Linked DNA regions of Homo sapiens: region 1 is linked to region 2. Evidence: promoter capture Hi-C in 16 types of primary human blood cells and fetal thymus (Javierre and others, 2016). All regions are on one chromosome and are shown on one strand. The core of a region is centred on a gene start or on the middle of the fragment in contact, and the rest is flanking DNA. Distances in the headings are between cores, read along the strand shown. Region 1 holds the start of CABS1 (calcium binding protein, spermatid associated 1). Region 2 holds the start of UGT2A1 (UDP glucuronosyltransferase family 2 member A1 complex locus).

Evidence for each region. The method cuts DNA at HindIII sites, captures the fragments that hold promoters and counts their contacts. A CHiCAGO score of 5 or more calls a contact.
Region 1: a contact is called between the fragment with the promoter of CABS1 here and the fragment with the promoter of UGT2A1 in region 2, in 5 of 17 cell types (naive B cells, monocytes, M0 macrophages and 2 more). The highest score is 6.5, in naive B cells.

The regions. Positions count from the first base shown.
Region 1 is chr4:70,331,763-70,337,234 of GRCh38, forward strand. CABS1 (calcium binding protein, spermatid associated 1) reads left to right here and starts at 3,219. Exons shown (of 2, transcript NM_033122.4): 1 at 3,219-4,584; 2 at 5,204-5,354. The coding sequence starts at 3,278. The coding sequence ends at 4,465. The HindIII fragment of the contact is 765 bases long and covers 3,182-3,946 here.
Region 2 is chr4:69,649,745-69,655,009 of GRCh38, forward strand. It overlaps UGT2A1 (UDP glucuronosyltransferase family 2 member A1 complex locus), which reads right to left and starts at 3,503. Exons shown (of 7, transcript NM_001252275.3): 1 at 3,444-3,503. The HindIII fragment of the contact is 6,501 bases long and covers 1-4,738 here.

The DNA of each region.
Region 1 (5,472 bases), core at 1,969-4,468, 680 kb after region 2:
AAGAGGGAATCCTCCCTAACTCATTTTATGAGGCCAGCATCATTCTGATACCAAAGCCAGGCAGAGACACAACCAAAAAAGAGAATTTTAGACCAATATCCTTGATGAACATTGATGCAAAAATCCTCAATAAAATACTGGCAAACCGAATCCAGCAGCACATCAAAAAGCTTATCCACCATGATCAAGTGGGCTTCATCCCTGGGATGCAAGGCTGGTTCAATATACGCAAATCAATAAATGTAATCCAGCATATAAACAGAGCCAAAGACAAAAACCACATGATTATCTCAATAGATGCAGAAAAGGCCTTTGACAAAATTCAACAACCCTTCATGCTAAAAACTCTCAATAAATTAGGTATTGATGGGACGTATTTCAAAATAATAAGAGCTATCTATGACAAACCCACAGCCAATATCATACTGAATGGGCAAAAACTGGAAGCATTCCCTTTGAAAACTGGCACAAGACAGGGATGCCCTCTCTCACCGCTCCTATTCAACATAGTGTTGGAAGTTCTGGCCAGGGCAATCAGGCAGGAGAAGGAAATAAAGGGTATTCAATTAGGAAAAGAGGAAGTCAAATTGTCCCTGTTTGCAGACGACATGATTGTTTATGTAGAAAACCCCATCGTCTCAGCCCAAAATCTCCTTAAGCTGATAAGCAACTTCAGCAAAGTCTCAGGATACAAAATCAATGTACAAAAATCACAAGCATTCTTATACACCAACAACAGACAAACAGAGAGCCAAATCATGGGTGAACTCCCATTCACAATTGCTTCAAAGAGAATAAAATACCTAGGAATCCAACTTACAAGGGATGTGAAGGACCTCTTCAAGGAGAACTACAAACCACTGCTCAAGGAAATAAAAGAGGACACAAACAAATGGAAGAACATTCCATGCTCATGGGTAGGAAGAATCAATATCGTGAAAATGGCCATACTGCCCAAGGTAATTTATAGATTCAATGCCATCCCCATCAAGCTACCAATGACTTTCTTCACAGAATTGGAAAAAACTACTTTAAAGTTCATATGGAACCAAAAAAGAGCCCGCATTGCCAAGTCAATCCTAAGCCAAAAGAACAAAGCTGGAGGCATCACACTACCTGACTTCAAACTATACTACAAGGCTACAGTAACCAAAACAGCATGGTACTGGTACCAAAACAGAGATATAGATCAATGGAACACAACAGAGCCCTCAGAAATAATGCCGCATATCTACAACTATCTGATCTTTGACAAACCTGAGAAAAACAAGCAATGGGGAAAGGATTCCCTATTTAATAAATGGTGCTGGGAAAACTGGCTAGCCATATGTAGAAAGCTGAAACTGGATCCCTTCCTTACACCTTATACAAAAATCAATTCAAGATGGATTAAAGATTTAAACGTTAAACCTAAAACCATAAAAACCCTAGAAGAAAACCTAGGCATTACCATTCAGGACATAGGCGTGGGCAAGGACTTCATGTCCAAAACACCAAAAGCAATGGCAACAAAAGACAAAATTGACAAATGAGATCTAATTAAACTAAAGAGCTTCTGCACAGCAAAAGAAACTACCATCAGAGTGAACAGGCAACCTACAACATGGGAGAAAATTTTCGCATCCTACTCATCTGACAAAGGGCTAATATCCAGAATCTACAATGAACTCAAACAAATTTACAAGAAAAAAACAAACAACCCCATCAAAAAGTGGGCGAAGGACATGAACAGACACTTCTCAAAAGAAGACATTTATGCAGCCAAAAAACACATGAAGAAATGCTCATCATCACTGGCCATCAGAGAAATGCAAATCAAAACCACTATGAGATATCATCTCACACCAGTTAGAATGGCAATCATTAAAAAGTCAGGAAACAACAGGTGCTGGAGAGGATGTGGAGAAATAGGAACACTTTTACACTGTTGGTGGGACTGTAAACTAGTTCAACCATTGTGGAAGTCAGTGTGGCGATTCCTCAGGGATCTAGAACTAGAAATACCATTTGACCCAGCCATCCCATTACTGGGTATATACCCAAATGAGTATAAATCATGCTGCTATAAAGACACATGCACACGTATGTTTATTGCGGCACTATTCACAATAGCAAAGACTTGGAACCAACCCAAATGTCCAACAATGATAGACTGGATTAAGAAAATGTGGCACATATACACCATGGAATACTATGCAGCCATAAAAAATGATGAGTTCATATCCTTTGTAGGGACATGGATGAAATTGGAAACCATCATTCTCAGTAAACTATCGCAAGAACAAAAAACCAAACACCGCATATTCTCACTCATAGATGGGAATTGAACAATGAGATCACATGGACACAGGAAGGGGAATATCACACTCTGGGGACTGTGGTGGGGTTGGGGGAGGGGGGAGGGATAGTATTGGGAGATATACCTAATGCTAGATGACACATTAGTGGGTGCAGCGCACCAGCATGGCACATGTATACATATGTAACTAACCTGCACAATGTGCACATGTACCCTAAAACTTAGAGTATAATAAAAAAAATAAAATAAAATAAAATAAAAATAAATGAAAAAAAAAAAAACAAAAAACAAAAAAAGAAAAAAAAAAAAAAAAGACCCAAACAGGCCAATAACTATTAGTTATTATCTCTACTGAAAAAGTGGGACTTCCTGTTATGAATAAGGGAACTAACTGAATTCCCTGCTACCTAATTACCTTCTGTAGCTATACTTACTGACAAAAACACCATTAATTTTTTTAGATACCAATTTTTTTTAATACTATGAATCTTAAGGGAAAATGGCTTCACCTCAAAAATACTCTGTTACTTGCTTGGAAGATAGACGACTTTAAGCTGATGCTGATAAACTTGTGGCTTCCAAAGTTTTCCTTACTAATTCTAAACCCAAAAGGTGCCTGGCAGTCTCTGCTATGTCTGTTTCAAGTAACCCTAGCTCTATATCAGGAGACATTTTCCTTATAAACAGAAACATGGTAAATCTTAAGTTCCCTGCAATTGAAATGCTTGGCTGTGAATTTGATTTCATAATCAGAGCGGACTCTATAGTCTTTTCATTCAATATTCCTGCAATTAGATAACCAATCGCAGCCTAGAAACAACCTCCAAGGAGACCCAGTGACATTGCTCCCATAGTTGATGCAACAATCACCATGATGACCCAAGCTTTAATCACTCTGATGAACACTGCTCTCCTGCCTAGAGATACCACTGAGTCCAGAAGCAAGACCTGTGAGAGTGCACAGTGCCACTTCGCCCCATGGCTGAAGATGGTTTGCCCAAAATTTATTCTCATCCTCCAACAGAAAGCAGTAAAACACCAACTGCAGCAACCATTTTCTTTGGGGCTGACAATGCTATTCCCAAATCAGAAACAACTATTACTTCAGAAGGAGACCACGTCACTTCAGTAAATGAATATATGCTAGAAAGCGATTTTTCAACAACTACAGACAACAAACTGACAGCTAAAAAGGAAAAACTCAAATCAGAAGATGATATGGGGACCGACTTTATTAAGTCAACAACTCACCTACAGAAAGAAATTACCTCTCTGACTGGCACTACAAACTCCATAACAAGAGACTCTATTACCGAACATTTCATGCCAGTGAAAATTGGGAATATTTCATCACCAGTTACTACTGTTTCTTTAATAGATTTTTCCACTGACATAGCAAAAGAAGATATCCTCTTAGCTACCATTGACACAGGAGATGCAGAGATCTCAATAACCTCTGAAGTCTCTGGCACACTAAAGGACAGCAGTGCTGGTGTTGCTGACGCTCCTGCCTTTCCACGTAAAAAGGATGAAGCTGATATGAGCAATTATAATTCCTCCATCAAATCCAATGTCCCTGCTGATGAGGCTGTCCAGGTCACTGATTCCACTATTCCTGAGGCTGAAATCCCTCCTGCTCCTGAAGAAAGCTTCACTACTATTCCAGACATAACTGCCCTTGAAGAAGAGAAAATAACCGAAATTGACCTAAGTGTTTTAGAAGATGACACCAGTGCTGTGGCTACATTAACTGACTCTGATGAGAAGTTTATCACTGTGTTTGAACTCACTACCTCTGCTGAAAAAGACAAAGATAAACGGGAAGATACTCTGCTAACTGATGAAGAAACTACCGAGGGAGCCAGTATTTGGATGGAGAGAGATACTGCAAATGAAGCAGAGACCCATTCTGTTTTGCTTACTGCTGTTGAATCCAGATATGACTTCGTTGTCCCTGCATCAATAGCTACAAACCTAGTGGAAGAATCATCTACAGAAGAAGATTTGTCTGAAACTGATAATACAGAGACTGTACCTAAGATCACTGAGCCATTTTCTGGAACTACCTCTGTATTAGATACCCCAGACTATAAGGAAGACACCTCCACAACTGAAACGGATATCTTTGAACTACTGAAAGAAGAACCCGATGAGTTCATGATTTAAAAGCAACAAAAGGGATACCATGTAGAATTGTGCAATAGTCTAGCCAGCTAGCCTTAACATCTAAGAAATTTTTCCAACAAGCAAAAACCTTTAGAAATGAAAGAATGTGGGCATTTAAGGCAAGTATTCGACTCAATAAATGCAGATGCTTAGGACTACAGGTCATGTAACAGATTTACGGAAACTTAGAAAAAAAAACCGCAGTGTAAGGGTCCCCCTAGTATCACAAAGTTTCAATATTCTAACAATTACTTAATGTAAAATTTTTCGTCCTAGCCTTCAGGGAGTATGAAGACAGAGCAATGTAGGGGCTCATTTCTACAACATTTAATGATGCATATCATTTAGTTAACAGTCAATATTATACTTAAGTGAGAATTAAGGATATGAAGAGAAGCAAATTAACCTCTCCAAAACATTACCATAGCCTAAAAAGTTCTCCCAAAATGCTTGTTCTAAGCAATTTTTTCATTAGTATTTCATCAGTGATTCTCTTCTATTTAAAAAATTTTTAATCCTCATATAAGAATTAAGACAATTCAGTAATTGTTTAGCACCCACATGTAAGATACATAAGATTTATGATAGGGTTCTTGGCACATGTTAGATACAAACTAAAGCAAAATGATATTTTACAAATATGCATATTTGTCAGAAAAATGTTCTGTAAACATATACATCAATTTAATTTTCTTTCTGTTAAAATGTGTTTTCTGAATTTTTGTCCATGTTTTCCAGGTCTTAAACACTGAATATCACACTCTTCTTATGACTCTTGTTAGCGATTCAAGGACATAAATCTTCATTCTTTTCTGGCACAGACTACTTAAATGGGTCTGTTTTCACTTTGCTCATTTTTCTTCAATAAATCTTTTTGGCAAGCAACTGATTTACTGTGTGTAGGTGTGTTTGATATTCTACTACAGACTTCTCAAATTAGGAGAAATAAAGAGAAATGAAAATTCATTGTTTGTTTAAAGAATAATATAGCTCTAATCCCCAGAAGT
Region 2 (5,265 bases), core at 2,253-4,752:
ACATAATCAGATAAAATAACTTACACAGTGGGGCTTGCCTACAACATGCCTGGAGGTGCACAGATAAGATTAGTTACACAGAACCAGACATGTCTGTAATGGAAAAGTCCATCTCCTGACACATGCGCAGTAAGGAAACAGGGTAATAAGGAGTAACTCAGGTTAAGGGCCTGCATGTGCATGAGAGGGAGTGGGTGGAGTTGTGAGAAATTCACACCTTTGCAAATAAAAATCTTTTTTTGTGTGCCATATGAAAATTAAACACCCCACCCCACTGGCTTGTTTATAAAAGCCTTTGTATTCAACTGAGAAATGGCAATCCTCTTGGGCCCCCTCTCTGCTGTGGAAAACTTTCCCCTTTCACTTATTAAACTTTCACTCCAACCTCACCTTTGATGTCCACGCTCATTAATTTTCTTGGTCCTAAGACAAAGAACTCTTGAGTAATACCTCAGATAGGGAGACTGCTCCAGTGACCCTGGGCTGCTTCACTATGTGTTTATTGGGTACCTACTATTCACACACAGCAGTACCTACTAGGTAGAAGAGGAATCCAGGAGATCTTTCTCATATTAATTTTATAGTCTATCAGTGGAAGATAAGAAAAATACATACATATCTGTGACAAAAATCACTGTAGTACATTATAGTCAGCAAGATATTAAAAACATAATTTAGATTTTAGAATAAATTAGGCCAAAGAATCCTAGCTTCACATTATGCTGCTTAATATTTATTAGACTCAATTTTCTCATATATAAAATGAAAATTAAAAACAACTTGAGTTTGAGAATATAAAGTAATAAAATAAAATAAACAACATATCTGTTAATAAATTAAAAATGAATATACAAAAAATACCATAAATTATTATGTAATAATACATACCACATATAAGAAAACTATATATTTAAATAGATACAATTGTATTTATTAAGCAACAAGTATATTACCTGGAGTAAAAGTGACGTTTAAAAATATACTATCTTTTTCATGTAATCCCTTCTCTTTCTCTTCCCTAGAGAAATTAACAAGGGCCTTCAGATGAAATGACATAGGTAAAGTGTTTTCAGAGATCTGTAGAGATTACTTCCAGCTTTTTGGGGGGATTAACGGTAGGGTGGAGGATAGGAAAGTCTTCATGAAAGGTATGATATTTGATATTCATGCTGAAGTATAGGCTACCTGGATGTGCATGACAAGCAGTGCGCAAAAAGGCAATTGCTGTTATGCCACTAATGAACTTTAGTGTTTTTAAATGTTTTCTATTTTAATTTTTGTGGAGTACATAATAGACGCATAAATTCATGTGATACATGTGATGTGCTGATACAGCATAAATACCTCAGAAATATGATCAGTATTAAAAAATTTCTCACACTAGTGAGGTTAAATTTTAGATTGATTTGTATTTTCGAATTTAATAGAAAACTAAATGAAGTTATATTCACAACAAAAGGCTTAAAGAGGTTGTTAAGTAAAAAGATTTGGCCTAAAATGTGGGTCTGAATTTGTGTTTGTAATTACTCTGATCTTAAAATCACTGAAAAGCTAATCTGCCCTTGCCAGAAAAATTTTGAAAGAAACACATTGTATGCCTGTATCAAAACATCACAAATATGTCATAAATATATACCTATATATACTATGTGCACATAAAATTAAAAATAAAAATAAACTGTGTAATATGATTACTATATTTGTGAAAGCTCATGAATTCAGAGAAAAAAACTAACGTATTTCAGAAGAAGCTAGCATACTCAAATATTTTCATCTTAGAGAATGATAATAAAATATATACTTTGCTTAATTGTGTTACAGGTAATTAGATAGGCATTAGGAATGTCAGGTGACAGTTCCATGATTATCACACTGCCTCTCTAAAAATGAGAATTTTGCAGCCAGTAGTGCCAGGGAGAGACAAGCTCTTTATGATCCACAGCTGTTAACATTAAAGTGTTAATTGAATGCAGATGCCAGAGAGGAGCGACTGCCTGGGCACGTGCATTAAGAGACAAAATGTTGAAGTGTGACCATCCAAGGACACTTTACCAAAAAAGGGAAGAAAGCCTCAGATGAGCATATATACAACTTCCTAAACAGACTGTGCATGCTCATTTCCCAAGGGTAAGAAGGGCACTGCACATGTGGGCAGCCCACCCTAAGGGAAGAATCATGGAAAAGAGGCGAGCCTATAAAGTCCTAGGATCGAGGTTAAACGGGGCACTTCAGGTGCCCACTTGAGTCTCTTCCAAGTACGTTTTCCTTTCTTTCCTGTTCTAAAGCCTTTAAAATAAACTTCCGCTCCTGCTCTGAAACTCCCGTCAGTCTCATCTGCCTGATGCCCCCCAGTCAAATTCTTACTTCTGAGGAGGCAAGAATTGAAGTTGCTTCAGACCTGTAAGGATTCGCCACTGATAACTCAGATGCCTTCTACTGGTTAACAACTGCATACAAAAGGAGTTAGCATGGCATTCACATTAACACAATTGGTTATTGCTTTTACAACAGCATTTTCTTTAGAAAAACTTTATGTCCTTTTTTTTTTTTTTTTTTGAGACCAAGTTTTGCTCTTGTTGTCCAAGCTGGAGTGCAAGGGCATAATCTCGGGTCACTGCAACCTCCATTTCCCGGGTTCAAGCTATTCTCCTGCCTCAGCCTCCCGAGTAGCTGGGATTATAGGCGACCACCACCACACCTGTCTAATTTTTGTATATTTAGTAGAGACGGGGTTTCACCTGGTCTTGAACTTCTGACCAGAGGTGATCCACCCTCCTCGGCCTCCCAAAGTGCTGGGATTACAGGGGTGAGCCACCGCGCCTGGCCATTATTTTCTTTTTTTAATAAATAAAATTGATTTTGCATAAAACTTATTTGATTTATAGCATAAAACATTTGACTTATATTTAAAGTAAATAGATTTTAAAATAAATATTTAAAAATCCATTAAACAATATTAAGAAAATAAAATACCCACTAAAGATGACATCTCACATCCTCTCATTCATGTGTTGTCTTAAGGACCACAGTGGTCACTTGTGTACATTATTCTTGTCTTCACCATATATCAGTATAAAGTTTCTTATTTGTCACTTTATGTGTCATCTAATGAAGGAACAAACAACTCTCCACTGGTAGGAACAAAAGGCATGAGAAGAATCCCTAAAGAGGACTTTGAGTTCACACTTAGACAAAACTCTCAACTTACTGCTCTGTCCACACAGTTCCCTCGATATCTGTAAAATTATTTTGAAGTATAAAATCTGGGAGAAAAATCCATCAAATTATAAAGTAGAACTAATAATGCTTTCATGGGTAAGCAATGAAACAAACCAAAAGGTAAACCAGCGTTTTAAAGATTGATATTTCTTTAAGAAGAGAATGGAAAATAAATTAAAATATACATTTTATATTGATTATCATGAAGTTTTCTAGTTTCTTACCTGAAGTTTCCTGGAGGAACTTTAACAGCACTCATTTGACATTAGGAAGAAGCCGAATGTAAATAAATCCTAGGTGGATAAGCATAATATAATGAGTAATATGATCTTAAATGGAAAAAAGATTATGTAAAGTTGTTTATACTTAACATTTTCCACCCACTACACTGTGAAGCAGATTAACCTTTTGTCAAAGGTGTAACCTTCTGTTGGTTCCCTAGCAACTATTTGCCCTGAATTTTGCATTTACTATCATGGTCTCTGCCCCTACCCCAACTAACCAAGTATGCCAGGATATATCTAAAATAAGATTGACAATAATTAGTAATCTTGAGATTGTTATGAATAAGTATGAGCAATTAATATCCCTCAAACTTATGAAACAAACAATTATTATATTATTATGAAAAAAGTTTTAAAAATTAAAATGTCTTTATTTTTATTTATATATATATATTTTCCTGATTCATGATGATGAAAGTGGGTGGTTTGATTGATCTTTGCCATAAATAAAGAAGATAGTAATTTAGATAATGAAATAACTTTTTTAGAGTTGCACACCTTCATTATGCACCATCCTTGGGGAATAAAATTACTGCTGTTTCTTTGTGCAAATATTTTGAAGTAGCAAAAAATAACTTAGTATGTTTTTTGGCATAGCATCCCAAATATGTCATATTTAGTAATAACTAAGTACTGAGATAGAACATCACCACTTGTTGTTTTTGCTGATAAGCAAACTTATGGAAATGTGGAAATAAATTTCATACAGCTGATAAGTATGGCATAGTCCGGCAGAGACACACTTTGTATGATAACATTGAAGAGGAAATAAAGAAGAACAGTGGAGGCCCCAAGCAAGTCTTTAAGTTCAAGTCAGCTTGGATTGCATACATCTGACTACAAATATTCATCAATTCATGGAGTGCAAGTTCAATCTTGATAAAAGAGAAGTAATGTGTGTGTTTCATACAATGATTTCTCCATTTTGAATAGCTAATGTAATTAACTTCTCAGCTAAATAAAATGAGTCTTCATGCAAATATTTCAACATGAGCCCTCAAATAGAAACTTTTCTGAGTCTTTACACTTGCAGTAATATATCTTTTGCCTTCACACTTGGAACACAGCATGGGTGTTAATTAATATTTTTAATTCCTGTAGTTTTCACTCAAATCTATTTGATCATACTCTATTATCTTTTTATAATCCCAGTCACAAATACACACACACACACACACACACACACACACATTCCTTTTAAGCCAAATAATTGATAACTAATTTTTTTTTAAAAAAGCTTCTTTTCTGTTTGGTTCTCTGTACTGTAAAATTTATATCAAATATATTAACTGTAATATAAAAGTTTTTTTGCTTGTCCAAGATTTTTACTTGCTACAGGTGGTTAAATTTCTATCTAGGACAGAATGAGCAAAGCCAGTAACTGAAAATATTGAACAGCATGATTCCCAACTAGACAAAAGAGAGACTCGAAATAAGAAAAATTTATAATGAACACTGGACACAGTAGGCCTGAAGACTCCCTATGATTCCAATATATTTCTAGGTGTAAAAGATTACTGTTATTCTACTCACCCTCCCATGAAGACTAACAGGCTTCATGGGACTAACTCTATAACAAGAAAATATTTTAAATTGGTGAAGCTTTTCTTGGAAATGACTCATTTTACCCAATTCAATGACAACAATTTTCACCACTTATAATTAATGAGAAATACTGAATAAAGTATCATCAACTTCAAGGTTAACCAATAAACTTCTTTGTAAAACAACCATATTTCATACCATGTATGATAATAATTTT